Regions from separate parts of the Homo sapiens genome. Here regions 2, 3 and 4 are each linked to region 1. Evidence: promoter capture Hi-C in 16 types of primary human blood cells and fetal thymus (Javierre and others, 2016). All regions are on one chromosome and are shown on one strand. Each heading gives the region's core, a stretch centred on a gene start or on the middle of the fragment in contact. The rest is flanking DNA. Distances are from core to core; before and after follow the strand shown. Region 1 holds the start of ACADM (acyl-CoA dehydrogenase medium chain). Region 2 has its middle 8.7 kb from the start of DNAJB4. Region 3 overlaps FUBP1 (far upstream element binding protein 1). Region 4 overlaps MIGA1 (mitoguardin 1).

What was found. The method cuts DNA at HindIII sites, captures the fragments that hold promoters and counts their contacts. A CHiCAGO score of 5 or more calls a contact.
Region 2: a contact is called between a fragment that was not itself captured here and the fragment with the promoter of ACADM in region 1, in 1 of 17 cell types (fetal thymus). The highest score is 9.9, in fetal thymus.
Region 3: a fragment that was not itself captured here is called in contact with the fragment with the promoter of ACADM in region 1 in 2 of 17 cell types (fetal thymus and non-activated CD4 T cells); the score reaches 7.5 in fetal thymus.
Region 4: a contact is called between a fragment that was not itself captured here and the fragment with the promoter of ACADM in region 1, in 3 of 17 cell types (non-activated CD4 T cells, total CD4 T cells and activated CD4 T cells). The highest score is 7.6, in non-activated CD4 T cells.

Annotation. Positions count from the first base shown.
Region 1 is chr1:75,720,795-75,728,049 of GRCh38, forward strand. It overlaps ACADM (acyl-CoA dehydrogenase medium chain), which reads left to right and starts at 3,915. Exons shown (of 12, transcript NM_000016.6): 1 at 3,915-4,023. The coding sequence starts at 3,994. It also overlaps a transcript of SLC44A5 not described here. RefSeq lists enhancers at 3,301-3,390, 4,041-4,130 and silencers at 3,761-3,810, 3,861-3,910. The HindIII fragment of the contact is 3,396 bases long and covers 1,016-4,411 here.
Region 2 is chr1:77,992,592-77,999,846 of GRCh38, forward strand. It overlaps a transcript of DNAJB4 not described here. Among named protein-coding and RNA genes, the nearest start is that of DNAJB4, 8.7 kb to the right of the region's middle. The HindIII fragment of the contact is 2,170 bases long and covers 1,279-3,448 here.
Region 3 is chr1:77,961,214-77,968,468 of GRCh38, forward strand. It overlaps FUBP1 (far upstream element binding protein 1), which reads right to left. Exons shown (of 20, transcript NM_003902.5): 3 at 6,952-6,990; 4 at 6,414-6,453; 5 at 5,836-5,888; 6 at 5,671-5,742; 7 at 5,481-5,538; 8 at 3,856-4,018; 9 at 3,657-3,755; 10 at 3,433-3,534; 11 at 3,041-3,143; 12 at 2,849-2,949; 13 at 2,361-2,502; 14 at 1,557-1,717. Among named protein-coding and RNA genes, the nearest start is that of FUBP1, 14 kb to the right of the region's middle. RefSeq lists a silencer at 4,403-4,605. The HindIII fragment of the contact is 936 bases long and covers 4,063-4,998 here.
Region 4 is chr1:77,781,600-77,788,854 of GRCh38, forward strand. MIGA1 (mitoguardin 1) reads left to right here. Exons shown (of 16, transcript NM_001416120.1): 2 at 1,639-1,752. The coding sequence starts at 1,654. Among named protein-coding and RNA genes, the nearest start is that of MIGA1, 5.6 kb to the left of the region's middle. The HindIII fragment of the contact is 3,599 bases long and covers 1,788-5,386 here.

The DNA.
Region 1 (7,255 bases), core at 2,665-5,164:
AATACATTTAAGAAATACATTGGTTCAGTTCAGAAAGACAGGACAACTTGAAGCAGGGGTGGAGCTGGGGGGGTAGGCGGGGGGAGGTTCCAGGTTATAGGCAGATTTAAACATTTTCTGGCTGACACTTGGTTAAGTTTATCTAAAGACCTGGAACCAACAGAAAGGAAATGTCTGGGTTAAGATTAAAGGATTGTGGAGACCAAAGTTCTTATTGTGCAAAGGAAGCCTTCAGGTGAGAACAGAAAAGCATTCTGTTATCTCTCTCCTTCAGAGAGAAGAGATTGTAAATGTTTCTTATCAGACTTAAGGTCTGTGTTGATGTTAACATCACTGAGGTATAAAGAGGCATGTCCAACCCCCACTTCCCATCATGGCCTGAAGTAGTCTTTCAGGTTAAATTTAAATTTTAGAGTGCCCTAGCCTACGAGAAAGTCCATTCAGATAGTTGGGGGGAATTTAGAATTTTGTTTTTGGTTTACAGCAAGCTTGTCCAACCTGCTGCCCACAGACCACATGCAACCCACAGGCCACATGCAGCTCAGGACAGCTTTGCATGCAGCCCAACATAAATTTGTAAGCTTTCTTAAAACGTTATGAAATTTTCTTGCGTTTTTGTTTTGGTTTGTAGCTTATCAGTTAACATTAGTGTTAGTGTATTTTATGTATAGCCCAAGACAATTCTTTTTCTTCCAGTGTGGCCCAGGGAAGCCAAAAGATTGGACACTGCTGGCTTACACCATCACCAATAGTGGGACAAATCTGATATTAAATGCCTCCTAATGTAATACAATATTAACTACACAGTATGACCTTTGAAGTATCCTTATCCAATGTTTAATCTGAACTCCTCAAGCCTCTGGTAACTTGCAACTGATAGGAAATACAAAATCTAGAGGTACAAAATAAATAAAATCGGACAATCCAGCATTAGGGCATTCTTCATGACAACTGCTTGGTATCTTAAATTTGTTTAAAAAGACAGTTATTATTGGGAAAAATGAATTAGATTAAAAGCTTTAGATTAAAAGAAGCCAAAGAAAGTTAAAGCCCAACTTCAATGGGCAATCATTCATAGGATCCTGGTTCAAAAACAAACTATTTACAAAAGGTATTCTGGAGACAACTGGACAACTGGAGAAATGTAAATATTCTCTGGACCTTAAATAATAGTAGCGAATAATTGTTAATTTTCATTGATGTGATAAAGGTTTTATAGGAAATGGTTATATAGGAAAATGTCCTTGTAGGAGACATATAGCTAAAGTATTCTGAACTGAAGTGTCTTATCTACAACCTACAGATCTGAGAAAAATAAAACCAACAACCAAAACACACACACATAGGTACACATATAAATATATAAATAAATATGGAAAAATATTTGAATCTAGGTGATAATGATATTGAGAAGAAATTACTCAGGCCGATAGTACGAGTATGGGAGTCCTCAGTGTAAAAAGTGAAGTAGAGGTTCCTCTTCAAATGGACTTTCCTTTCCGTCTAATTAGGAATAAACAGTAACTTCTCTTAAAAGCAAAATTTATTCAAAGAACTGTGCTAACATATTGGAGGCCGAAACAATGAGGTTCGTGATCAACTCAGTATATCACTGGAGGCTATATGAGTAAGCAGCAAACTGTTTCTCATAAATGCAGAACGTTGGCGAACTGACAAACTGCGTATGCCACCCAGGAGGACTGCTGAGGGTAGTTACGATCTAGGCACAAATGTTTCTTATGATTAGGCATAATTGAAGCCTGTCAGTAACAATATGAACCTGTGATCAATTAAGCAGCTGACCAATCGTTACCACCTCCTCCCTGCTCCTGTTACCCAAAAAATAGGAAGGGCTGTGGAAGCTCTGTGGCTGCCTTTGCTCACGAGAAGCAGGGAGCTCTCTTCTTCTTCCCCTGGCCCTTTCCTTAAAACAGTTCCTTTTGTCTTAAGTTATCATTTCTACGTTCGTCCCTTCATTTGATCTCACAATGATGGTCTCAAGCAGTAACAGTAGTAACTGCTGTAACGATGGTCTCAAGTAGTAACCGTGGCAGTTGGCCACACTAACATTCTTTGATATCTGTTGGCCGTAATAAAGAAATCAATGTACTTTGTGCTCTTAGCTGCCACATTTTAGCCTAGATATTTGCCCTGGCATGCTTATACTGGTCCAAGGAAGCATTAGGCCATAGCCTGTTTTCTTCCTTATCTGGAGGTGTTTTTACCTTTCTCAGCATTCCACAAGTTGCTTCCTCCTTCCTTTGTTCTCCTCTGTCTTTGCCTCTTTTGGAAAGTTCTAAGTTGCTAGCCAATCAGGACAAGTACAGAGGTCCCCTTCCAGCCAATGGAAACCGGACACGGTAGTAGGGTGCACGTGTCAGGTTATAAATGACCCTGTCTCCTTTATGCGTGTGTGCTCTCGTGGCAAGACTACTAGCGAGCGGCAACCTTTCTGCAGAAAGTAAACTAGCCTTGCTAAGAGCTCCTTTGTCTCAGTGTTGATTTTTGCAACACTGAGCGCCCGTTCCCAACATCAGTAAGGCTTTTCTTTTTAATGAAAAGCAGCCCCAAATCCTTTTCTAAGAGCAGCCTGTGAAGTCGAGCTGCAGGCACAGACAAACAAGGGGGTAGCTTGCTTGGGTGAATGGTGGCAGGAACTACCGACTAGACATGTTTAAGATGAGGGCTCCATCTTCGCTTCTCTGCCAGCCACGTGTACAGTAAGAAGGGGTTACAATAGGCATATGGGTGATTTTGTGCTTTTCGTTCATCTTTTCTGTGTTTAAAATGTTCAGAATAAGAAATTGGAACAAAGGAGACATGAATAGACAATTCCTAATCATCTTTAAGAGTCCGCTTTGTGTTTTACTTACCACCACCACTTTGAAGGCTTTCTTGCCTATACCAGGACAAACTCAGCTCTTTATCCCTTTTCCGAATTTTCCTGGTACTTTCACTTTGAATATAGCGCTTAATTAACATTCTGCCTTGTACCTAGGACTAACACACTATAAATTCCCAGAAGACAAAGTAGGGGAATACAATAACAGGATATAGAATTTTAACAGCTAAATTAGATGAATTTATGGGTGACCTTTATTGGGCAAAAGAAAATGTTAAGTTAGTATAAGATTTAGTATAAGCTACCATCTCAAAACTCAGGGTCTCACTGGAAGAGAAAGTGACTCCAGGTAGAATTCCTCAGGGAGACATTCACTTCCATCATTCGCTGAACCAGGAGCTTTGGACAGCCTCGGATTGCACCCGCATATCCAAGGACACCACATCAGCGGACAAGTCATAAACAGCCTTGGGAATACGCGGAAAGGTCAAATTTACCTAAACAATTAAATTCTCTTTTAAATTTTAAGGAAACACAAGTATGCTTTCGCTTTAGGTAGGGCATTTGAGAGCAAAATGTACTAATACTTTGAATCCGCCAAGCAGACACGATCTGGGTTTGACCGTTCTCTCCGGGTAAAGGTGAAGGCTGACCACGGGGGCCGCTCTCCCTCCAGGCCCCAGCCACGCCCTCTAACCCAGGTTCCCGTCCTGCACCGCGCCGCAAGTCCCCCCACCGTTCAGCGCAACCGGGCCCTCCCAGCCCCGCCGCCGTCCCCCTCCCCCGCCCTGGCTCTCTTTCCGCGCTGCGGTCAGCCTCGGCGTCCCACAGAGAGGGCCAGAGGTGGAAACGCAGAAAACCAAACCAGGACTATCAGAGATTGCCCGGAGAGGGGATGCGACCCCTCCCCAGGTCGCAGCGACGGCGCACGCAAGGGTCACGGAGCATGCGTTGGCTACCCGGCGCCGGGGACCGCTGCCACCCCGCCTAGCGCAGCGCCCCGTCCTTCCGCAGCCCAACCGCCTCTTCCCGCCCCGCCCCATCCCGCCCACGGGCTCCAGTGGGCGGGACCAGAGGAGTCCCGCGTTCGGGGAGTATGTCAAGGCCGTGACCCGTGTATTATTGTCCGAGTGGCCGGAACGGGAGCCAACATGGCAGCGGGGTTCGGGCGATGCTGCAGGGTGAGAGGGAGCCCAGCGGTGCGGTGGGGCTGGAACATGGGTATTGTGGTGTCGGAGCAGGGGGCCCTGGGCCAAAAATAGGTGCGGCCGGGAGGAGTGGGAAGTCGGGCTGAGGAAGGAGCCAGCCTAGGGGCCCCCAACCTGCTTTCACGCCTCCTACCACCGGACGGAACGTAGCCTAGCGTTTCATTTTCCGTATCCTCCCGTCAGGCGACCCCGTTATAGCCGGCATCCTCTCTTTAGAATATCGTTTTTCTTTCTCTGGTAAACCCTCCAAATATTTACCGCGGGAATCCCACCTTTTTCCAAAGTGACCCCGTCTCTGTGTCAGAACCACGGGAAAAAGAAAAATGGAGCAGCTACTCCTTGAAATACTTAATGTTTAATAAGCTTTTCGTTGTAACGTTTCCACGTTGCTTACGGGAAAAAAAAAAGTAAAAAAAAAACCTGCAGAATTTTATGTGAACTTGTGTGTATATTCTAGTATTGGATCTTAATAGATTCTAAATAAGTTTGTCACTAGATGAATTTTGGTATCTTAAATATTCTTGATATGTTCACACCACTGCCATTTAGATGTCACTTAAAATTAAGTTAAAGTTATGTCTTGGACCAAAAAAGCTGCGGTTTTAGAATAATCCTAAAGAATTGCTGCCCATGTTTTGCTGGTGTTATGCAAGTTAATGTGCAGTGAAGGCAGAAATTGGGAGATTTCAGCTATTTTTAACTCCTACACCAGAAAAGCAGATTTCTCAACCTCCAAGGAAGGATCTAAAAAAAACCTGATATAGAAAACTTACACCCTTTTTCTCTTCTTTAACCCATAAAACTGACACTCTTATATTCCCAAGAAATGCACAAAAGTGTTCAATTCTAGTGGTGCTGTTTCGATATTTGGAATTTCATTGTTCTAGACAGAGAGCCCGAAGTAATAAAACCAATAGTTATATAGCATTAGGCTTTCAAAACATTATCGTACTTTAATCGTCCGAAAATACGCAGTGAGATTAGTCCCATTTTTTGGTTTTGAACGGAAGCTATAAGCAGTTTGTAAACCTGTCTACGGCCACAAATATGGTTGTGGAACCTAGATTCACATTCAGCAATTATAACTCCAGATCCCGTGCTGTTTCTGTTTTCTATTTGCAAACCACCTCTCTAATTAACTGGCTAACTTTGTTATGTAATTAACAGGTTGATGGGCATTGTATTCTGGTAATAGCAACCTTTGCACTTTGTTCTATGTAACATATTTTCCTGAACAGTCACATGTGAAGTGACTTTTTCCCTATTTAAATTCCCTCGGTTGGCCAGGTGCGGCGGCTCACGGTTGTGATCCTAGCACCTTGGGAGGCCTCGGCGGGTTGATCACTTAAGGCCAGGAGTTCGAGACCAGCCTGGCCAAAGCAGGGAAACCCTGTCTTTACTAAAAATAGGAAAAATTAGCTGGGCATGGTAGCATATGCCTGTAATCCCAGGAGGCTGAGTCTGCAGTGAGCGGAGATCTCTCCACCGCACTCTAGCCTGGGTGACAGAGGGAGACTCTGTCAAAAAAAAAAAAAAGTCCCTCAGTAGACCATTTAACCTGGTTTGAGTTCTGACTTTTGTGCATGGTATTTAAAAACGCATTTATAATAGAGTCAGGTTTTTTGTTCTGATTTTTGTGGAATGTTTTCCTTTGTTATGGAACCTAGTGACCAATTAGGATACTAACAGAAAGATCAGTATAGCAAGGTGGTTAATAGCATGCGCTCTTGATAGTAAATGTTAGAATCCTGGTTGCACTAATAGTAGAGTGACTTTGCCTAATTTAGTTGACTTTCTGAGCCTTCGTTTCTTCACATGCGAAAGTGGAATAAAAGTAATGGCTTAATCCTAGACTTGACCTGGGATTCAGTGAATTAACCTGTGTAACGCGACTGTAAATCAGAGTAGATTTGGTCTGTGACTGCTGGACAATAAGCACCAGAGAAACTGTTTCACTTTTTTTTTTTTTTTTTTTTTTGAGACGGAGTCTTGCTCTGTCACCCAGGCTGGAATGCAATGGTGCAGTCTAGGCTCACTGCAACCTCCGCCTTCCGGGTTCAAGCGATTCTCCTGCCTCAGCGTCCCGAGTAGCTGGGACTACAGGTGCGTGCCACCACACCTGGCTAATTTTTGTATTTTTAGTAGAAATGGGGTTTCACCATGTTGGTCAGGCTGGTCTCAAACCCCTGACCTCGTGATCCGCCCACCTCAGCCTCCCAAAGTGCTGGGATTACACGCATGAGCCACCCCACCTGGCACTGTTTCACTTTCAAAATAAAATTAATGAAGATGCAAAGAAAATGCGAGTTTTCATACTCTGTATGTTTTTATTACTGTAGTATGAGGTATGTTATTTGGAAAGCACTGTTTCAATTACAAATATTTGACACTCTTAATTATATTGTCACCTTACATGTAGGAATTCGTCTTTTATAAGTTGAAATTGTCATCTACAAAGACAGTTTCTTTTTACGGATTTTGAAAAACATAAGAATTTAAATAAAGAAACTTTAGTATATTCTTCAGCTGCTCTTTTCTCTTAGTATCTAAGCTTGTTAAAATTGCTGGATAGTTCAATTAAAATCTTTTACAGTGAAAATTGTGTAATTTTGACTGTCCTGAAACCTTTACTCAAGAACACCATTGTGGTTCCCAGTTTGGCAGCTTTAATAAATGCAAATTTTTACTTTTGTATCCATTAAACTGTCATGAATATAAAAATGGGTTGCAAAACAATAATATATGTATATTTGATTGTTTGTTTCTTTATATGTTCCTTTGAAGAAATATGACTATATTTCAGATCCTAAGACAAGTAGTGTATTAGTAGTTTAGAAGAGGGATGGCAAACGTGTTTGTAAAGGAACGGATAGTACATGTTTTTGGCTTTGTGAACCAGATGGTCTCTGTGGTAACTACTTAGATCTGCTGTGAAAGCGGCAATAGACAGCATGATGTGGCTGCACTGGTTTGGTGACTCCTTGCTCAGAACATTGTAAGAATCCCTGTAGACAGCAGAAAATACAGAACATGGTTTTATGCTAATTTGTTTTGTTAGAGTGGGGTATCCTAAAAAATGAGATCCTCTGAGGGGAAGGTTTCCAGAGGCATGCATGGGAGGCTCACAGTGACAGGGTATCAAAGTTGATGGACTAGGCAACTCTTGAACACAGTATGTTCACTTCCAGCCTATCGTTCTCCCCAC
Region 2 (7,255 bases), core at 1,114-3,613, 2.3 Mb after region 1:
AACACATGCCACCCTTTTTGATAAGCATCTCACCTCACACTTTAAATATTCTAATATATTCCCTTTAGCAGTCATGTCCAGGTTGAGAATCAGCGTATAAGTTTTATTTTACCATCAGACAAGCAAAAACAGGTTGACCTTTATTCTTTTTTTTTGAGACAGAGTCTCTGTTGCCCAGGCTGGAATGCAATGGTGCGATCTCAGTCACTACAACCTCTGCCTCCCGGGTTCAAGCGATTATCCTGCTTCAGCCTCCCGAGTAGCTGGAATTACAGGCATGTGCTACCACACCTGGCTAATTTTTGTATTTTTAGTAGAGACAGGGTTTAACCATGTTGGCCAGGCTGGTCTCGAACTCCTGACCTGAGGTGATCTGTCCGCCTCAGCCTCCCAAAGTGCTAGGATTATAGGCTTGAGCCACCGCGCCCGGCCTATTTCTGAGTGTTTATTGTAAAAACTATAGTTTTTAAAGTTTGCCAGATGCAATAAAATTTTATCATGTTTAGTGCTTTATTTAGACTTTGCTCTCCCTCCAGCGAAGAATAATTTGTATAAAGCAGAAGTTGGCAAACATTTCCTGGTAAGGGCCAGACGGTAACTATTTTAGGCCTTGTGGGCCATACAGTCTCTGCTGCAGCTACTCAACTCTACCGCTGTCTGGCAAAAGCAACAATAGACATTAGGTATTACTTTATATAGTTATAGTATAAACTCCTTTTTCTTTTATTTTTTTTCTTTTTTGAGATCGAGTCTCGCTCTGTCACCCAGGCTGGAGTGCAGTGGAACAATCTTGGCTCACTGAACCTCCACCTCCCGGGTTTAAACAATTCTCCTGCCTCAGCCTCCCAAGTAGCTGGGACTACAAGTGTGTGCCACCACATCTGGCTAATTTTTTTGTATTTTTAGTAGAGATAGGGTTTCACCACGTTGGCCAGGCTGGTCTCGAACTCCTGACCTCAATTGATCCGCCCTCCTTGGCCTTCTAAGGTGCTGGGATATAGGCATGAGCCACCGTGCCTGACTTATTTATAGTATAAACTCCTTAAGGGTAGGGACTATGTATTATACTGTTTTATCCTTCATGTTACATGTAACAGTATAGCACAGTGGGGTCTCAGTAATGGTTGGCTTGATATGCTGATTTGACCTAGATAACAAAAAGTTTATATTTTTGAAATATTAATAACTTGAACATTAAAACCCATCCATTTACAGTTAATTTATTTTAGAGATATATTTTTCTCTAAATATCCTTCTTTAGACAATTATAATAGTTCAAGCTTATGCATTTGGAATTAGGTAGTCAATGGCTGAATTTTATAGTAGTTGGTAAATACTATAGGACATACGGGCTTATTTATATAAATGTTCTAATACTTATATTTGGTAGCCATTATTAAAGTCTTCGAATCATAGTTAAGTCTCCATGGTAGCAGTGGTTTCGTGATTATGTTTTAATGGATGCAGTATACGATAAAGTTAATTCATAGTTAAAGTTTGGTACTGATTTAAATTAAATCATTTGAGAGGCCAGGCACAATGGCTCACACCTGTAATCCTAGCACTTTGGGAGGCGGAGGTGGGAAGATAGCTTGAGCCCAGGAGTTCAAGACTAGCCTAAGCAAAATAGGGAGACCCTATCTCTACAAAAGAAAAAATAGCTAGACATGGTGGCACATGCCTGTAGTCCCAGCTATTTGGGAGGCTGAGTTGGGAGGACTACTTGAGCCCCGGAGGCTGAGACTGCAGTGAGCCATAATGAAACCACTGCACTCTAGCCTGGGTGACAGAGCAAGACTGTCTCAAAAAAAAAAAAAAAAGAAAAAAATTATTTGAGAATTGTAAACAATTAGCTAAACAAACTTGCTAAATAATCAGTTTGTTGCAGTCTTGGCTAAGAGCCTAATAATTCAATGAAACAGCTGCATATCCTCTCCTCCTCTTGGGCTACAGACATTTTTTTTCTGTGTACTCCTTAAACTACTCTCTCTCTTTTTTTTTTTTTTTAACTACTCTCATTTTTCTAATGAGCCAATTAAGATGACATCTCAGGCCACATATAAGAAAAGAGTATGAGAAGAGACATTTTAGAAAAGATAAAAGTGAAAATCACGTAGATTCCTCATTTCCAAGTGTTGCTTTTACAATTAAACATTGTGAAAGTGTATGTCAACTGAGCATGTGTAAATACATTCCTACTACCTTAAGTGTAAAGTATTATTTTGAAAAAAATTATCATATTGTTTATATGGATGAACAATGTAGTACTATTTTATAAGTAAAATAGAGTTCACCTGTTAAGACTTTATTTACCCTAAATGTGCATGTGAGAGGTATGTATGTGTGGTATACTTGGGCTGAGATTCACAGGCTGAGATTTCTGAAAAATTGGATTATAGTACTGCCGACTAGAAGGAACCACTAGATCTGCACTGTCCAACACAGTAGCCACTAGCCACATGAGACTCTTAAGCTACTGAAATGTACCTATCTGAATTGAGGTCAAAGTGTAAAATACATGCTGTATTTCAAATATTTAGTACAAAAAATAAAGAATGTAAAGTATTTCATTGATAATTTGTATTTTGATTATATGCTGCAATGATAATATTTTGGATTTACTAGGTTAAATAAAATACATTATTAAAATTAATTTCACGTTTGTTTTTACTTTAAAAAAATATGGTTTCTGGAAATGTGGCTTGCATTTGTAGCTTGCTTTATATTTCTGTTGGACAGCACTGGTCTAAATAGTGTGATCTTTCAACACAGGCAAAATGTTATAATGAAATATTAGTTTATCAAGACCCATTTAAAATGATGTAGAAACTCTAGCTCTTTTTAAAATTTTTTGGCTAATACAGTGTTTTTGGTTTTGAGACAGTCTTGCTCTGTTGCCCAGGCTTGAAGTGCAGTGGTGTCGTGATCATGGCTTATTGCAGCCTCATCTCCCTGGGCTCAAGTGATCCTCCTGCCTCAGCCTCCCAAGTAGCTAGGACTACAGGTGCATGCCACTACATCTGGCTAATCTGTTTTATTTTTTGTAGATACGAGGTCTCACTATGTTGCTCAGCTGGTCTTGAACTCCTAGACTCAAGTGATCCTTTTGCCTTGGCTTCCTAAAGTACTGGGATTACAAGTGTGAGCTATCACCCTGGGCCTAACTCAGTGTTTAAAATCAGTGTAAAGAACACTTTATTTTAAATTAGCTGGGTGTGGTGGCACATGCCTGTAGTCCCAGCTACTTGGGAGGCTGAAATAGGAGAATCACTTGAACCCGGGAGGCGGAGGTTACAGTGAGCCCAGACTGTGCCATTGCACTCCAGCCTGGGCAACAGAGTGAGATTCTGTCTCAAAAAACAAAACAAAACAAAAAAAGAACTCTTTAAATTATTTCAAAATGCCAGAAAAGTATATTAGCTCGCCATACATTCACTAGTCATTAGCAAGCTTTCAAGGACTTATTGTAAAAGAGGGTAACAAAGAAGGGCTAGTTGTTGCTTGAATATTTTATTCATCCCAGTTAGAATAAGTTAGTTCTATACTCCCCAAAAAAGGAAATGATATATATATTTTTTGGATACAGGGTCTTATTGTGTCACTCAGGTTTGAATACAGTGGCATGATCACGGCTCACCTGCAGCCTTGACCTCCTGGACCCAAGCCATCCCCCTGCCTGAGCCTCCTGAGTAGCTGGGACTACAGGCACATGCCACCATGCCTGGCTGATTTGTAAATTTTTTGTAGGGATGGAATTCTCACTTTGTTACCCAGGCTAGTCTCAAACTCCTGGGCTCAAGTGATCCTCTCACCTCGTGCTTCTAAAGTGCTGGGATTACAGGTGTAAGCTACTGCACCTGGCTGATTTATTTTTTTAAGTATAAAATATGTCTGATCCCCTGGGTGTCTCCAAATCTAGTAATTTCTATACATTTAAAGCAATTTTATTTTCTTGTTTTTTGAAAGGTAGGTACTTTTTAATTTTTTAAACAATTTAAAATCTTGTTTTAAAGACCACTAGACAAAAAAATTAAATGTATATATTATAGTGCTTCGGGGAAAGTATTATAAAACCAAGCCATGACACAGTATCAACATTTGAAAACTTGGGGAATTACTAATATTACTGTAGCGATAAAATGGAAATTTTGATGATACAGACAATAGTCCACAGAGAATTATGACTAAAATTATTCTTCCTACCAACCATTTTAAGTTAGTTTGCCATCTTATGTTGGTGCTCTTGGAGGCTTACAAATTATTATTATTTGAGACAGGATCTCCCTCTGTCACCCGGGTGGACTGCGATCACGGCTCACTGCAACCTTGAGCTCCTGGTCTCAAGTGATCCTCTAGAGTAGCCAGAACCACAGGCGTGAGCCACAGCGCCTGGCCAGGAAGCTTACAGATTATTAATGAAACTTTGTTAAGAACCCTTTACCTTACTGACAACCAGAAAAGTAATTTCACTGGTTTGGGAATAAATGGACACTTAAGAAATGAAGCAACCTCTTCAAGTAATTTTTTTTCAAAGACCAAACTATTGAATTAGTGCTTTTTGAAGAGCATAAAAGAGCAGTCATCAAGTGTGACATTAAAAACTTTCAGCTGGGTGCAGTTGCACATGCCTGTAATCCCAACACTGGGAGGTTGAGACGGGAGGATTGCTTGAGCCCAGGAGTTTGAGACCAGCCTGGGAGACATAGTGAGAACCTGTCTCTACAAAAAAAAAAAAAAAAAAATCTATATCTATATCTATATCTATATATCTATATATATATTAGCAAGATGTGGTGGTGGTGTGAGCCTGTAATACCAGTTACTTGGGAGGCTGAGCCCAGGAGAGATCATGGCTGCAGCGATCTGTGACAATGCCACTGCACTCCAGCCTCGGTGACAGTAAAACCCTGTCTCCATAAAAAAAACTTCGAACAATCTGACCGTAACTTATTTTCTGCCAGCTTCCCAGGGCAAGCCTTCCTAATTTGCATGCATTAATCTCACCAGTATTTTTGCTGTATCAAATACATTTTATGCTCTTTTGCTTCTTGACTTAGTGTTCCTGATCCAAATTGCAAATTCTCCCTTTCTCTGTCAAAATCTATCAGTCTTTCATGACTTTGCTCACAATTTTCTGTTCTGAAGTCTTTCCTATCCCCACCACTCCAGCCCAAGTTGAGGATAATAATTAACTTTTTTTTTCTTCTTTTCTTTTTGAGACAGTCTCCCTCTGTCACCCAGTTTGGAGTATAGTGGCATGATCTTGGCCCACTGCAACCTCCACCTCCCAGGCCCAAATGATCCTTTCACCTCAGCCTCCTGAGTAGCTGAGACCACAGGTGCACGCCACCATGCCCAGCTAATTTTGTATTTTCACGGGGTTTTACCGTGTTGGCTGGTCTTGAACTCCTGGCCTCAAGTGATCTGCAGTCCTTAGCTTCCCAAAGTGCTGGGATTACAGGCGTGAGCCACCGCACCGGCCTCTGTTTGACTATCTTTAAAGCTCTTAAAACGATCTCATTTCGTTATTAACTTTTTATTGTTTGTCTTCCCCCTCTAGAATGAGTTGAATGAGAGCAAGGATAATGTCTATCTAGTTAACAGCACCTAAAATAGTGTGTGACACAAAATAAACACTCCATAAATATTTGCTGAGTGATTGAAATACTTTATTTGTGGAAAATGTGCACTATGATAACCACCTTTTTAAACAGTTTGTGTACCCATCAAATACTATAAAATGGACAGTCAGATACTGTTGACAAATTCCAAATATAATGAATCCAAACTACTGTCATTGCCTAAAAAAGGACATTTACAGGTAAGGGGCGTGGGAGAGTAGGATTTCTAAAACAATTTAAGCTTAAATGGATAGGGCTTAATGTCTTAAAGACACTTGCCTTAAGTTTATGTATTTCAGCTTGTAACGTAGATAAGGTAAGAAGTGAATCTCTTTAAAATTTCTCAGCTGAGTGCGGTGGCTCAGACCTGTAATCTCAGCACTTTGGGAGACCAAAATGGGTGGATCGCTTAAGCCCAGGAGTTCTAGACCAGCCTGGGCAACATGGCGAAACCTCATCTGTACTAAAAATAGAAAAATTAGCCAGGCATGGTGGCATGCCTGTGGTCCTAGCTACTCTGGGGGCTGAGGTGGGAAAATGGCTTGAGCTCAGGAGGTCGAGGCTGCAGTGAGCTGAGATTGTGAGATCAGGAACACAATCAGCCTGGGCAACAGAGTGAGATCCTGTCTCTAAATAAATAAATAAATAAATAGATTTTATGGGTCTGTATCTTGGCAACACATACACAATAAATAAAAATTTCCCTATTTTTCCCCTAAAGACAAAGTTGCATTTGTAGCCATCACAAAATTAAAAGGTACTGTAAGTATTATGCTCTGGAACCTTTTCACAGGAATGAGAATTGAGGGTCTGAGTTGCAAACTTACATCAAGCATTTGCTCTATAGCAATCTATGGTAATGATACCTCTTAGTGCTTACTGGTTTTTTAGGAAATTATAGTATGTAGAGGTAAGATATAGTCCGTTATTAAATGGCCAATAATTTGATTTTATATAACTATTTAGATATTATCTTAAAAACAGGTGAAACATTAGGATAGACACAGCCTAGTACCCTCTAGTTTTATGTAAATATTGGAACAGTGTATGTTTAAGAATTGTCAAGAATATCTTAGCTCATTATTAGACTGTAGCTATAGAAAAGCTCTTTGAAATCTTATCACTTGAGTATCAGATGTATGTGAGAAAGCATATGGAAGTATTTTATAAACTGTAAAGTATTATATAAATGTTATTATGGGGAAGGCATAGAACAGGTTTTTTTTTTTTTTAACACTGAGAAGATAGTAAAATTCAGAGATAAAGGTCTGAAAAGGGAACTTGGCAAGAGGCAAGATCTTGGGGGATGCCAGACTCCTTTGGGGGTGAATCTGGTAGTTACTTTAATGCTTTATGCCAAGTAAAACTTCCTGAGTCAAAGGAGACTATTTGTCAATAAACATCCAAGTGGTAGCAAAATAGTTTATATAGCTTAAAATACTGAAAATAATGTATATGTAGATGTCATATAAATTGTAGTGCTGACACATGTACTATCTCATCTGACTCTCACAATAATCTTTGTGAGTTAGGTATTCAGATAATTTAAATGATTCATCTAAGTTACTCACCTGTTAAGTGGGAGAACTGAGATTAGAAACCAAGTATTCAGATTTTTAAGTCTTTATTCTTTT
Region 3 (7,255 bases), core at 3,281-5,780, 2.2 Mb after region 1:
ACACTTAACTGTCCTAAAATGCTCCTTCTGAGTAGTTAACACAACCAGGCGACATGTTGGACAAAATGCTAACACTACATTTTGTTGTAAATTTCTCACTGCAAAATAGGGAAACTAAACTTCATGACCTTTAAAGTTCTTTTTATTAACTTGTCTCTTTAAATCTCCAATTGCTGTCATCTCTCACTTACTATCCATGACCTATTCTTTCCAAGTAGTAAAAATAATACTGAAAAAGTAGCAACATTTTTTAGGGTTATGTGGCAGGCATTCTTTTAAGTGACACACACATGAACATTCATTTAATCCCTACAACTCTATGAAGTAGATACCATTATCTTCATTTTACAGGAGGAAACCAAGGCACAGAAAAGCCTGAGTAACTTCTCCAAGGTCACAGAACCAGTAAATGATTCACAGAATTCTGAACTGAGGCAACCCGACTACAGAGTCCATGCTCTTAATCACCACACCAAATTGCTTCTCCAAAACAATCTATCTTGTTTTTCCATGAATCCAACAGAAATCCTGACGCATGCATGTTAGGCTAATACTGTAAAATAAAAAACCAAGATGAGTGCTATTCATTTTTTTGCCATGGCATCAACCTCTATCATTACTCTACAAACATCCTCTTCATTTTTTGAACCATTAAACTATCCATACAACAGAACTCACAATGTTTGTGTACATTTTGTAAGACGTTCCTTAAGCGTCTTTTGTACATCTATTTTTGTCTTCCCAAGTTGACAGAAACAGTGTCAACCTTGTTTTGCACGCACCCCATTCACAGCATGGCAAACACCAAAAATAATTTTTCCTAGGCAATTCTAATAATTTAAGATGCCCCCTGCACACTTTGTGTTAAAAACTCCAGTAAGACACTGTCTGCCTCACTTACAAAAAAGCAGTCAAAGCGTTTCATACTTTTTTGTTCTAACAGAAAACTTTCCTGGAGGAAAAATTTCCAAATTTGTCTGTGCACCAGAATCACCCAAACATCTATGTAAAATTAGATGCTGGGCCCTATCCCAGACATTTTGAGTCAGGTCTGTCTCTGTATATTATGTGTAGGAGTGGGAAGCACCCAAATAGTCTACATTTTAATACCCCCAGATGATCTGTGAGCCAGTCCAAAACCTAGGATTTATGAATTTCTACTGTAGAGTGGCAGATGTATCTGATTTATCTTGTTTGCCTCGCTGGGGTTCAGTAGAGTAAAATCTTAATAAATAATGAATTCCCGTTAACTATGTCCTTCAAGTATGTTCCACAATCCTACACCAACACTAATATCATGCCTACAGGTAACACTACCCTCCTCTTATCTAGCCACACCCAAATGTAAGGTTGTTCTCAAAACCTGTAACTACACATTTAATTAGGTTATTTTCATTGCTGGAAAATCTTCACGTTGTATCTATTATACATATCATGAAATCTATAAATGCTGACTAGTAATGATACATTTTCCTTTGATGTATTTGAATAAACGTCTTAATTTAACTACAGTCTAAGGGTCTACACTAAAAATTAAAAGTTTAAAGTATACTCACACCAATCTTTTCTTCTATGAGTTGCCGAGCATAGTCTATCTGTTGTGGAGTGCCACGAATTGTAAATAACTTCATATTAGGATCTGCATTTGGTGGAGGATTTCTCTGAAGTTCTATTCTTGCACCAGACTGCTGGCTTATGCTTTTTATGGTTTCACCTCCTAAAATCAAAAGACAGTAATTTCTCTAAAGGTTTCAAGGGTGTACTAGGAGCTATTTAGAAGAAAATGGTCACAATTAAATGGGCCATTAAAAATATGGTTTGGTCAGTATCCTAATTGACAATATTGTATTAAGATTTTTCATTTAATATTCTACACTGAAAATCAAATTTTAGGAAGCATTTCATGCTTCTCTTAAAATACATTTACATTTACTTAGTATGTTTAAACATAAACTTAATGTGATTATAATAAAATATTTGAATTAACTGCTTTTAAAAGCAGTGTAAATATAAACTAATACACTTATAAACATTCAAATTTTTAAAATATGAGTCGGGAAAAACCAAAATGCACAAACAAAAACACTCAAACCACTTTTTGGGTCAAAAGACATTTCTTATGCTAATAATTATCTCTTAGTTCGCTTTCTCTAGAAGCTAGTAAGATTAAAATCCTGCTCTTTCTCTAAATATACATGAGATCCCTCATTTATGTTTTACTTGTTACATATTAACATAAGAATTCTTTTCTACTAAAATACGGTCAGAGAAAAAGCATTGCCACTTGTTTACGACAGCAACAGAAAGTGTCCAGAAAAATGAATAATGTGTTAAAACATTAAGAGTTTAAAATACATTGCCTTTTCCTATTATTAATCCAGTTTTCCCAGTTGGCACAATAAAATTAAATTCCTGTAGTCCACCAGGTGGTCCCATGTTCCAGTTGCCTTGACCTCTACCTCTTCCTCGACCACCAGGTCCAGGTCCACCAGGATTACCAGCCTATAGAGAGGGAAAGACAAGAACGAAGAGTCAGCACAGAAATACTTTTGTTTCATGATAAAATTATTAAGTTTATTTTTCCCAGCTCTCATATACCTGAATCAGAAATGTAGAGATGAACTGGCCCTAATAAGTAATAACATTTTTTAAAATACAAGAGTAAATAAGGTAGCACTTAAGGTAGTAGTTCTTCCTGCTCCAAGATCTTTACCTTAAAGCAATTTAAACTTTCTCCATTAATAAAGCATCATCAAGCAGACTCTGATATAGAGGTAACTTCAGATTTCATGAAGGAAAATACTTTTCCATAAAAACAAAAAATGAAAATGTTAACTTTCTATCAAACCTGAACACTTCGAAGAAGGTCTGTAATAATTTCTGCAGCATGTTGACATCGGTCTGGAGGTCCTGTTATTTGTGCTATCCTTTCGGGTGTTGTCCCATCATCTTCAAAACAAAGAAACAAAATTAATTAAACAATAAATGTATGTCAAAACTCACTGCTGCCAACACTTACAAGATTATTATATGTACTCACCTGGCTTAAACTGAATGCGAACACCAGCATCATTTTGTATTTTTTTGATCATCTCTCCATTTCTTCCTATTACAATGCCAACAGCAAATCTTGGAATGGGGACCTTATGTAAAAAAGACTAAGTATTAAGAAAGCTAGCTTCTCAGGGTTTAAAGTAAAAAAAAGTATTTTAAAAAAGCGCCATTTCCTGAAAATCTGCCTCAAATCATAAAAGTACATATAATTCTATATTTATAGTAAATAGGGTAACAAGATATATAGAATTCTGTATTCTAAAGTATAAAGGTGAAATAAAAGGATAACAATGTTAGAGCTACTTAACACAAAACAGAAAACACTATTATATTTATGAATTAGCATACAACCATTTCTGAATGGGTATTTTTACTTACATCTATCCCTTCATTTCCTCCTATTCTTGACCCATACTCATTCCGAACTTCTCTGAAACCGCCTTGATCACGAATTAACTCTAACACCATTTCCTTGGCTTGCTAAAGCAGAAAAAGTTAGCTAATTTAGAAAGCATGTCTCAAAACATTTTAATTATTCATGCATATTTTGCCCAACCCCATTCAACCCACTCTTTCTTTATAAAGTATAAAGTTAAGTTTACTTGAACTTTATATGGGTCTCCTGTAATCCTAAGAGGTTTGTCAGCACCAGTGTTCTGCGGCCCGTCTTGAATCATAACCATTTTAACTCCAGCCCGTTCCTGTTACAATCATAGAAATAATATATATTAACAAAAGGAAGTGGACAAAAATGGGCATCAAAACAGATCAAAAGTAGCCATTTCACAAAAATAACAATACCTGAAGCTGTTTAATAGTTTCTCCCCCTTTTCCAATGACTAATCCTGCCTTGCTAGCTGGAATCATGATTTCTTGAACTGCATTTCCCGGTCCATCGCCATGATGGAAGCCAGGAGCTGGTCTTCCTTTTTCAACAATCTGGTCCAGTAACCGTTTTGCTGACCTGTTAACAAATTAATATTTAAATAGTAAGCTGTAGCATACCCAAGCTTATTCAAATAGAGAAATATAAAACAATATAACCAAGTACTCCTCCTATCCCAGTTCAGGATTAGGTGCCTTGATGCTAACTTTAACAATGCTTTTACTTTTAACTGAAAGAAAATGCCATCAAGGGTCAAAGATTGAGAGATTATGCAAAAAAATTTTCTAGATATACAATTTTTATTTTTAAGAATAGTCCAAAATTTCCAAGAAAGAACTCTAATGCTAAAGTTATCTCAGAATTAAACTGATTCTTCCAAGAACTAAATGATTTATTTACATTTTTAAACTACCATTTTGCTTACTCATATGCTACAATTATTCATTCAACAAATATTTAAATATCAACTATGTGCAGGTGCTATTCTAGGTAATGGGGTAATAGCACTCAAAGAAACAGGGTTCCTGCTAGAGTGGCTTCATTTCATTAAATAAGTAAAAATAACATGTCAAATGAATAACACATTATTTGGAAAGTGCCATAAAGAAAATCAGGCTGGGGGAAGTGGCTCACGCCTGTAATCCCAGGACTTTGGGAGGCCGAGGTGGGTGGATCACGAGGTCAAGAGATTGAGACCATCCCGGCCAACATGGTGAAACCCTGTCTCTACTAAAAAAATACAAAAATTAGCTGGGTGTGGTGGCATGCACCGGTAGTCCCAGCTACTCGGGAGGCGGAGGTTGCAGTGAGCCGAGATCGTGCCCCTGCACTCCAGCCTGGCAACAGAGCGAGACTTCGTCTCAAAAAAAAGAAAAGAAAAAACCTAGTAATGAGGGAGAACTAACAATGCAGAAGAAAGTACAACTGCAAGCTGAACCTTCAGTAGGAAGAAAGGGCTGGCTTTAGGCACTCGAACACAAAAGGAAAGCAATTACCTGAGTACTATGTGAACAGAGGAAAAATGAAGGCTGGTAGGTTTAGTGGTAGGGAAAAAGAAAAGCTTCTTATCATTTGCTTCCATTTTCTCAGTAAATAAGCTTAAGTGGGAGAGCGTGGGGTTAGATGCTGAAGATTTGGAGGTGGGGAAATACAGTATTAAAGAGCCTGGGAGAGGAGTGGAAAAGTGAATGGAACTAGGGAAATGCAGGCAACACAACAGTCCACTTGAGCTTAATGTCTGAGTTTTAAGTGTCACCAGTCGACCTGACTGTGCATTCTTCTCCAGGCTACACGTGGCTTTACAAGTAGAGACTGGAGTAGATATGGAGTTGTTTTAACCATTTTCTGTGTTTAATGATTCAGATGATGAACCCCACCTGAGAAAGGCATGAGGCATAAACTTCAAAGGAGTTGGAGGACTTTGAGGGAAGGTGGCAGCGAAACCACAGTGTAAAATAAAGCAGTAACAAAGAGAAGAGACAAAATTCAAAGAGTTCTGCTGTTGTTACTTAAGTAGATTTTTAAGATTTTTCAAACTTACTGGACAGATTCAGGTGTTCCAGTTAACATACAGGACCTTTCTGGAAGGCCACCACTGTCTACAATTTAAAACAAACAGATAACTTCAGGTCAAAAGATTAAAAGTAGCATTATTGTTACTAGAAGGCTTAAAAAAAAAAAAAAGCTAGTTTTCTAGTCACACTGAAAATACCATGAGAATGTAACATTACCAGGAGCTATCTGTATTTTGCATCCAGATTCCTGTTGTATGCGTGAGATCTGTTCACCTCCTCTGCCAATTACTAGTTAGAAAAAAAAAAATTTTTTTTTTGGTTGAAAGATTCTAAAGTATGTTTTGATCATGTTTTCAAAACTTTAAAAATCAAGTTACTTACTGAATCCAACCATTCCATCTGGAACTTTGTATTCTTCTGTCATTACAGATCTGCTAAGAAATAACAGAAAGCACCATTTTCCTTCAATGAAAGATACTTTGTTTACAAATAAAAGATAATCTATTAATAAAAATGGAAGTCTAATGTCTCCCAATGGCTTAAACTAAGGTTCTAGGCTCAGACTCATGTCAAAAAATATGATCTTATTACTTGAGTAGTTAAATTAAGAAATTTAAGATGACACATCAAGTGAAGAAGGGATGATGAATGGAACAGTCTGAAGGCATTAACTGTAAAGAAGTTGAAGTGGAGTTTAGAGAATGTCATCTTAACAGTTACTCTAATTCACCCCTGTTCTTCTAAAATGTGGTTAATTCCACCTATCTCTCCAAATCACAAATTTTTCTCACTCAAAAGAAAAATCATCACTTTATGGTACCTTCCCAAGGGGAGTGATATGAACTAGGTACACCAAAAAATACACAGACACATATTCAATATACACCAATGTGGTTGTGTTTTTACATACAGCTCAACCAAAACTTGCAGAGTACTTTTTGAAAATCTTGTGACTATACCTTTGCTGCTGATGCATCGGTGGTAACTGTGTTCCAAAAGCTATCAAAAAATTAAATAAAAATAAAACAAAAATTCAAAATTTAAATTTACTTATATATTTAACAACACAATCACATCAAACATTCAAAAATCTCTCCCTAATGCACAGACAACACCTTGAAGAGAGTCAAATTTTTTACACAATATTTATATTGGCATTGACAGGGGCAAGAGAGCCAATGAAAGGGAAGACATTATATTAGCAATGGCACAGAACAAAATAATTTCCTTTTTCAAGTTGTACAAGTATAGATCAAGAATTGGAGTTGTTAAATATGTAAAATAATTCAGCAACCAATCTTTACATATACCCGGCCACAATTAATGGGACAGATTGTAAAATAGGAGAAAAAGGTATATATTTACAAAGAAATTCAGGCTAGCTGATCCAAAATACTCATAAACCAACTAACTTCAAAGATACCCAATAATATGAACAAAATCTTAACATTGAAATTGTTACTTTAGCTTTTGACCCAGTTTAAAAGGAATACTTACAGTCATTTTGAGGAGCAACTTTCTTAGCATCTGGTTGATCTGCAAAATTAAGTGTCTTTTAATTTTTTGCCAATTAAGTACAAAGCTTCTCCCCTCCCAAACAAGAATAAATAACAATATAAACATTTATTGAAATATCTGAAGGTATGGTTTATCATTTGAACCAAAACTGCCAAAATTCAACCCCAACTCAGTAATCTAAAAAAGAAACGATACTTCATTCTCTTCACGTTCAAAAGATGCACAGACATTAAAATAGTTATCTGATTCTTAAGAAATCACTGACCTTAATGTATGTTAAGCA
Region 4 (7,255 bases), core at 2,337-4,836, 2.1 Mb after region 1:
GGACCATTTTTCACTTTCTTAACTGTTCATGGTTTCCTCTGTACTTTTTAATCATATGTCTCTATCACAGGTTGTTGACTGAAATAAATGTATGTCAAGTAGAACTAACTATACTGAATCTAAAAGTTGTACTTAGAACACTGGTAGGGGGGATTAAGTTTATACTGCTGTATCCCTAGTAAGGATTAAGGGAAGCATCAGTAGTAGTAACCCACCCTAAGAGGTATTGCTGTGTTTGATTTTAAAGGAAACCACTACTTAATCAGTGGTTTTGACACTTGTCTGAAAACAGGTGGGTATTAACAGAAGGGGATAGTCTATTGGAGTATAGAAAAAGAGAACATAGAAATGTATGCAGAAATGAAGGGCCTAAAAAAGTGTAGCAAATAATTTTTTTTTTTTTTGGTGTAGGCAGGGTTTCACCATGTTTCCCAGGCTGGTCTCGAACTCCTGGGTTCATGGACTCAAGCAATCCACCCATCTCGGCCTCCCAAAGTCACTCCCAAAGTGCTCAGGCATGAGCCACTCACTGTGCCCAGCCGCAAATAAACTTTTATAGAGGGATTGCTGGTAATTTTTATATTCTGTTATGTAATATACAGCACTACCCAAATAAAAGAAATAATAAATTTGGTAGACATAAACATTGTGGTTATTAGAGAAGCCCATTCTCTTGTGCATTAGAGATAATGCTTAGGCGTTTTCTTGGCCTGAATGAAATATTCCTCAGGACTCTTGATTTTTGCACTCATCAGGCAACATTTTTGACTTATTAGTTCAGCTTCCTATGGTCTTTTATTTCAGGGATGGTATGTTTTGATAGAATATGTACACTAGATCGTTTATTTCTTTATTATAAATAGATAAACTTGTAAAGTGATTTATGCATCAATACCATGTAAATTTGTTTAACATGTGTTCAACTGGGTACAGTGGTAAAATTACGTTTCTGGCTCTATAAAGCAGAGACCCAGACCCTGAACCACTGCCTTAATGACCTCTCTTTGTGTGTCAACTGCTTCTCTGTACTCATCTGACTTTTCTTTTTTTGTTTAAGAGAAATAATACGCATTAAAACTATACCAAAATCATATAGCATATATGTGGCATTTCTTTGAAGATCTTTAAAATGAGACAATAGGAGAATAAATGCGTGAGTTCTGGAGTTCAGTCAGTGAACTCTGAGGTTCTAGCCCCAAGATTCTGTTCCAGATTCCATTCAGCAACCTGCCTGCCACCTACTCTCACCCCCGCAGTTATATGAAGGAAACCAAATGAATGAGAAGTAAATTTTAAATTACTCCCTAAAAAGTGTTAAATTTTTATGTAACCAGAAAAGAGAGAATCTAGAACTCGCAATTTCCTAAGGAAAATTTGCTACCCGGACTCAAAGTTTAAATCTAGCTTTTTTTTTTTTTTAACTTCTTATTTTTTATGCTATCTCCTACAGGAAGGATAGCTTATTGTTTCTTTTACGCGTTTGGTGATTAATAAATATAATTTTAGCTCAAGTGTAATGTCATCAATAATTGACTGCAAAAATAAGCTGATAGAATTAAATTTTCAGTTTGTACCTTTCATTGGTAAAGTAACCAGAAATCTTTGTGGCTAATTTTTTTTATGTTTCATTTAATGAAGATTAGAAGAGGAGCCATGTCAGAAGAAACAGTAAGTGAATCACAGTTTTCCTTGAAGACAGCAGCGCTAAGAGTGTTTGATCTTCCTCTGACTTGGTACTATTCTCTCTCCCAGGTAAATAAAAGAAGCAAACAGGAAGTTGAATATTAAGCTTATTGCTCAGAGCATATTTTGTTTACATTATTTCAGTTTTATTTGAGGTTTCTATATAGTACAGTCAAAATATTTATTACAGTAGTTAAAAAACCTACTTGGTTATTTCACGGGTTTTTGTTTTTGGTTTTGGTTATTGTAACTCTTAAAAAAAGGTTATGTTACTTAAAAATTTTTTTCTGTCTTAAGCAAACTTACATAGTCCATTATTATTACTTTCAGTGAATTATGTTATTCCAGTAGGCCTGTTCTCACTATTAACAATCCTTTAAATTTTATTGTGGTAAGGTACAAATAACATAAAATTGACCATTTTGATCATTTTTAAGTGTATAGTTCATTAGCCTTAAGTACATTCACATTGTTGTACAAACAATATCCAGAATTTTTTTCATCTTGCAAAACTCAAACTCTACAACTGTTTATCAACATCTTACTGTACCTCCTTCCCGTCATTCCCCACCACCATTCTGTTTCCTGTCTGTATGAATTCGACCAGGTACCTCACAAGTAGAACCCTACAGAATTTTTTTGTGACTAGCTCACTTTACTTAGCATAATGTCCTCAAGGTTCATCCATGTTGTAGCATATGTCAGCATTTCCTTTCTTTTTAAGGTAGAATAATATTTCGTTGTGTGGATATACTACATTTTGCTTATGTGTGTGTTTGTTGATGGACATTGGATTGCGTCCATGTTTTTGCTATTGTGAATAATGCTGCTATAAACATGGACATACAAATATCTCTTTGAGATCCTGCTTTTAATTATTTTGTGTCAAGTGAAATTGCTGGATCATACAGTAATTCTACTTTTAATTAAATTTATTTATTTATGTATTTATTTATTTATTATTATTTTTTAGAGGCAGGGTCTTGCTTTGGAGTACAGTGGCAAGATCATAGCTCACTGCAGCCTCAAACTCCTGGGGTCAAGCAATCCTCCCACTTCAGCCTCTCAAGTAGCTGGGACTACAGGCATGTGCCACCATCTCTCCACCAGTTTTTAAATTTTTTGAAGAGACAGAGTCTCAGCATGTTGACCAGGCTGGTCTTGAACTCCTGGCCTCAAATCATCCTCTCACTTTGACCTCCTAAAGTACTGGGATTATAGGTGTCAGCTGGTTCACCCAGCCCTATTTTTAATTTTTTGAGGAACTGCCATACTGTTTTTCACAGTAGCTGTACCACTTTACGTTTCTACCAATAGTGCACAGTTTTTCCACATAGTGCACAGTTTTTCCACATCCTCATCAATGCTTGTTATTTTCTATTTCATTGATAGTAGCCATCCTAATAGGTATGAGGTTATATTAGTCCGTTTTCATGCTGCTGATAAAGATATACCCAAGACTGGGCAATTTACAAAAGAAAGACGTTTATTGGACTCACAGTTCCACATGGCTGGGGAGGTCTCACAATCATGGTGGAAGGTGAAAATCACATCTCATATGGCGGCAGACAAGAGCTTGTGCAAAAAAACTCCCATTTTTGAAACTGTCAGATATTGTGACACTTACTCATTATCATGAGAACAGCAAGGGAAGGACTTGTCCCCATGATTCAGTTACCTACCATTGGGTCCCTCCCACAACACGTGGGAATTCAAGATGAGATTTGGGTGGGGACACAGCCAAACCATATCATTCTGCTCCTGGCCCCTCCCAAATCTCATGTCCTCACATTTCAGAAGCAATCATGCCTTCCCAACAGTCCCTCAAAGTCTTGACTCATTTCAGCATTAACTCAAAAGTCCACAGTCCAAAGTCTCATCTGAGACAAGGCAAGTCCCTTCCACCTATAAGCCTGTAAAATCAAAAGCAAATTAGTTACTTCCTAGATAGAATGGGGGTATGGGCATTGGGTAAATATGGCTATTCCGAATGGGAAAAATTGGCCAAAACAAAGGAGCTACAGGCCCCATGCAAGTTTGAAATCCAGCAGGGCAGTCAAAAATTTTTTTTTTTTTTTGAGAGGGAGTTTGGCTCTTGTTGCCCAGGCTGAAGTGCAATGGTACAATCTTGGCTCACCGCAACCTCTGCCTCCCGAGTTCAAGCGATTCTCCTGCCTCAGCCTCCTGAGTAGCTGGGATTACAGACATGTGCCACCACGCCTGGCTAGTTTTGTATTTTTAGTAGAGATGGGGTTTCTCCATGTTGGTCAGGCTGGTCTTGAACTGCTGACCTCAGGTGATCTGCCTGCCTTGGCCTCCCAAAGTACTGGGATTACAGGTGTGAGCCACTGCACCCGGCCAGGGCAGTCAAATATTAAAGTTCCAAAATGATCTCTTTTGACTCCATGTCTCACATCCAGGTCATGCTGATGCAAGAGGTGGGTTCCCATGGTCGTAGGTAGCTCTGCCCTTGTGGCTTTGCAGGGTACAGCCTCCCTCCCGGCTGCTTTTATGGGCTGGCATTGAATGTCTGTGGCTTTCCCAGGTGTATGGTGCAAGCTGTTGGTGGATCTATCATTCTGGGGTCTGGAGGACGGTGGCCCTCTTCTCACAGCTGCACTAGGCGGTGCCCCAGTAGGGACTCTGTGTGGGGCCTCCGACTCCATGTTTCCCTTCTGTACTGCCCTAGCAGAGGTTCTCCATGAGGGCCCACCCCTGCAGCAAACTTCTGCCTGGGCATCCAGGCATTTCCATACATCTTCTGAAATCTAGGTGGAGGTTCCCAAACTCCAATTCTTGATTTCTGTGCACTGGCAGCCTCAACACCATGTGGAAGTTGCTAAGGCTTGTGGCTTGCACCCTCTGAAGCCACAGCCCAAGCTCTATGGTGGCCCCTTTCAACCATGGCTAGAGTGGCTGGGATGCAGGGCACCAAGTCCCTAGGCTGCACACAGCACGGGGACACTGGGCCTGGCCCCTGAAACCACTTTTTCCTCCTAGGCCTCCTGGCTGGTGATGGGAGGGGCTGCCGTGAAGACCTCTGACATGCCCTGGAGACATTTTCCCCATTATCTTGGGGATTAACATTTGGCTTCTCTTTACTTATGCAAATTTCTGCAGCCTGCTTGAACTTCTCAGAAAATGGAATTTTCTTTTCTATGGCATTGTCAGGTTGCAAATTTTCCAAACTTTTGTGCTCTGCATCCCTTATAAAACTGAATGCCTTTAACAGCACCCAAGTCACCTCTTGAATGCTTTGCTGCTTAGAGGTTTCTTCTGCTAGATACCCTAAATCATCTCTCTCAAGTTCAATGTTTCACAGATTTCTAGGTCAGGGGCAAAATGCCACCAGTCTCTTTGCTAAAATATAGTAAGAGTCACCTTTGTGCCAGTTCCCAATGAGTTCCTCATCTCCATCTGAGACCACCTCAGCCTCACTTTATTATTCATATCACTATCAGCATTTTGAGCAAAGCCATTCAACAAGACTCTAGGAAGTTCCAAACTTTCCCACATTTTCCTCTCTTCTTCTGAGCCCTCCAAACTATTTGAACCTCTGCCTGTTATCCCGTTCCAAAGTCACATCCACATTTTTGGGTATCTTTTCAGCAGCACCCCACTCTACTGGTACCAATTTACTGTATTAGTCCATTTTCATGCTGCTGATAAAGACATACCTGAGACTGGGCAATTTACAAAAGAAAGCTTTATTGGACTTACAGTTCCATGTAGCTGGGGAGGCCTCACAATCATGGCGGAAGGTGAAAGGCACGTCTCACATGGCAGCCGCAAGAGAGAGTGAGAGCCAAATGAAATGGGTTTCCCCTTATCAAACCATCAGATCTCGTGAGACTTATGCGCTGTCATGAGAACAGCAAGGGAAGGACTTGTCCCCATGATTCAATTACCTGCCACTGGGTCCCTCTCACAACACATGGGAATTCAAGATGAGATTTGGGTGGGGACACAGCCAAACCATATCAAAGGTAGTATATCCTTCTGGTTTTGATTTGTATTTCCCTGATGATGTTGAGCATCTTCTCATGTGCTTATTGACCATTTATATGTATCCTTTGAAGAAATGTATATTTTAGTCCTTTGCCCTTTTTTTTTTTTTTTGTAAGACAGAATCTCACTCTGTTGCATGGGCTGGAATGCAGTGGTGCAATCTCACTGCTCACTGCAGCCTCGGCCTCCTGGGTTCAAGCAATTCTCCCTGCCTTAGCCTCCTGAGTAGCTGAGATTACAGGCGCCTGCCACCATACCTGGCTAATTTTTGTATTTTTAATAGAGTCAGGGTTTTGCCATGCTGGCCAGGCTCGTCTGGAACTCCTGACCTCAGGTGATCTGCCCGCCTCCGCCTCCCAAAGTGTTGGGATTACAGGTGTGAGCCACTTGTGCCTGGCCCCTTTGCCCATTTTTGAAATTGTTTTGTTCTCGTGGAGTTTTAGTTCTCTGTATAGTCTGGATATTAATTCCTTGTTAGTTATATGATTTCCATATATTTCTCCAATTCTGTGAATTACTTTTCTTTTCTTTTTTTTTTTTTTTGAGATGGAGTCTCACTCTGTCACCCAAGCTGGAGTGTAGTGGTGCAGTCTTGGCTCACTGCAACCTCTGCCTCCTGGGTTCAAGCAATTCTCCTGCCTCAGCCTCCCGAGTAGCTGGTATTACAGGTGCCTGCCACCACACCTGGCTAATTTTTGTATTTTTTCTTTTTTTTAGACAGAGTCTCGCTTCTTCACCCAGGTTAGAGTGCAATGGCGCAATCTCGGCTCACTGCAACCTCCGCTCACTGCAACCTCCGCCTCCTGGGTTCAAGCAATTCTTCTGCCTCAGCTTCCCAAGTAGCTGGGATTATAGGCATGTGCCAGCATGCCTGGCTAATTTTTGTATTTTTAATAGAGATGGGGTTTCACCATGTTGGCCAGGCTGGTCTTGAACTCCTGACGTCAAGTGATCCGCCTGCCTTGGCCTCCCAAAGTGCTGGGATTATAGGCATGAGCCAGTGTACCTGGCCTAATTTTTGTATTTTTAGTAGAGACGGGGTTTCACTATGTTGGCTAGGCTGGTCTCGAACTCCTGACCTTAAGCGATCCACCCACCTTGGCCTCCAAAGTGCTGGGATTACAGGCATGAACCACGGTGCCCAACCCTGTGAATTACTTTTTTATTCTGTTGATGGTGTCTTTTGATGCACAAAATTTTAAAATTTTCATCAAGTCTTGTTTGTATCTTTTTTTTGTTGCCTGTGTCTTCATTGTCATATTTAAGAAGTCATTGCCAAATCCGATGTTGTGAAGCTTCTTAGGGTTTTAGGACTTATATTTAGGTCTTTGATCCATTTTGAGTTAATTTTTGTATGTATTATTAGGTAAGGGTCCAGTTTTCCCTATACCATTTGTTGAAAAAACTCTCCATTTCCGACTGAATGGTCTTGCACCCCTGTGGAAAATCATTTGATGATATATGTGAGGTTTTATTTCTGTGCCCTTGATGCCAGTACCTTACTGTTTTGATTACTGTCGCTTTATAGTGAGTTTTGAAATTAGGAAATGTGAGTCCTCCAGCT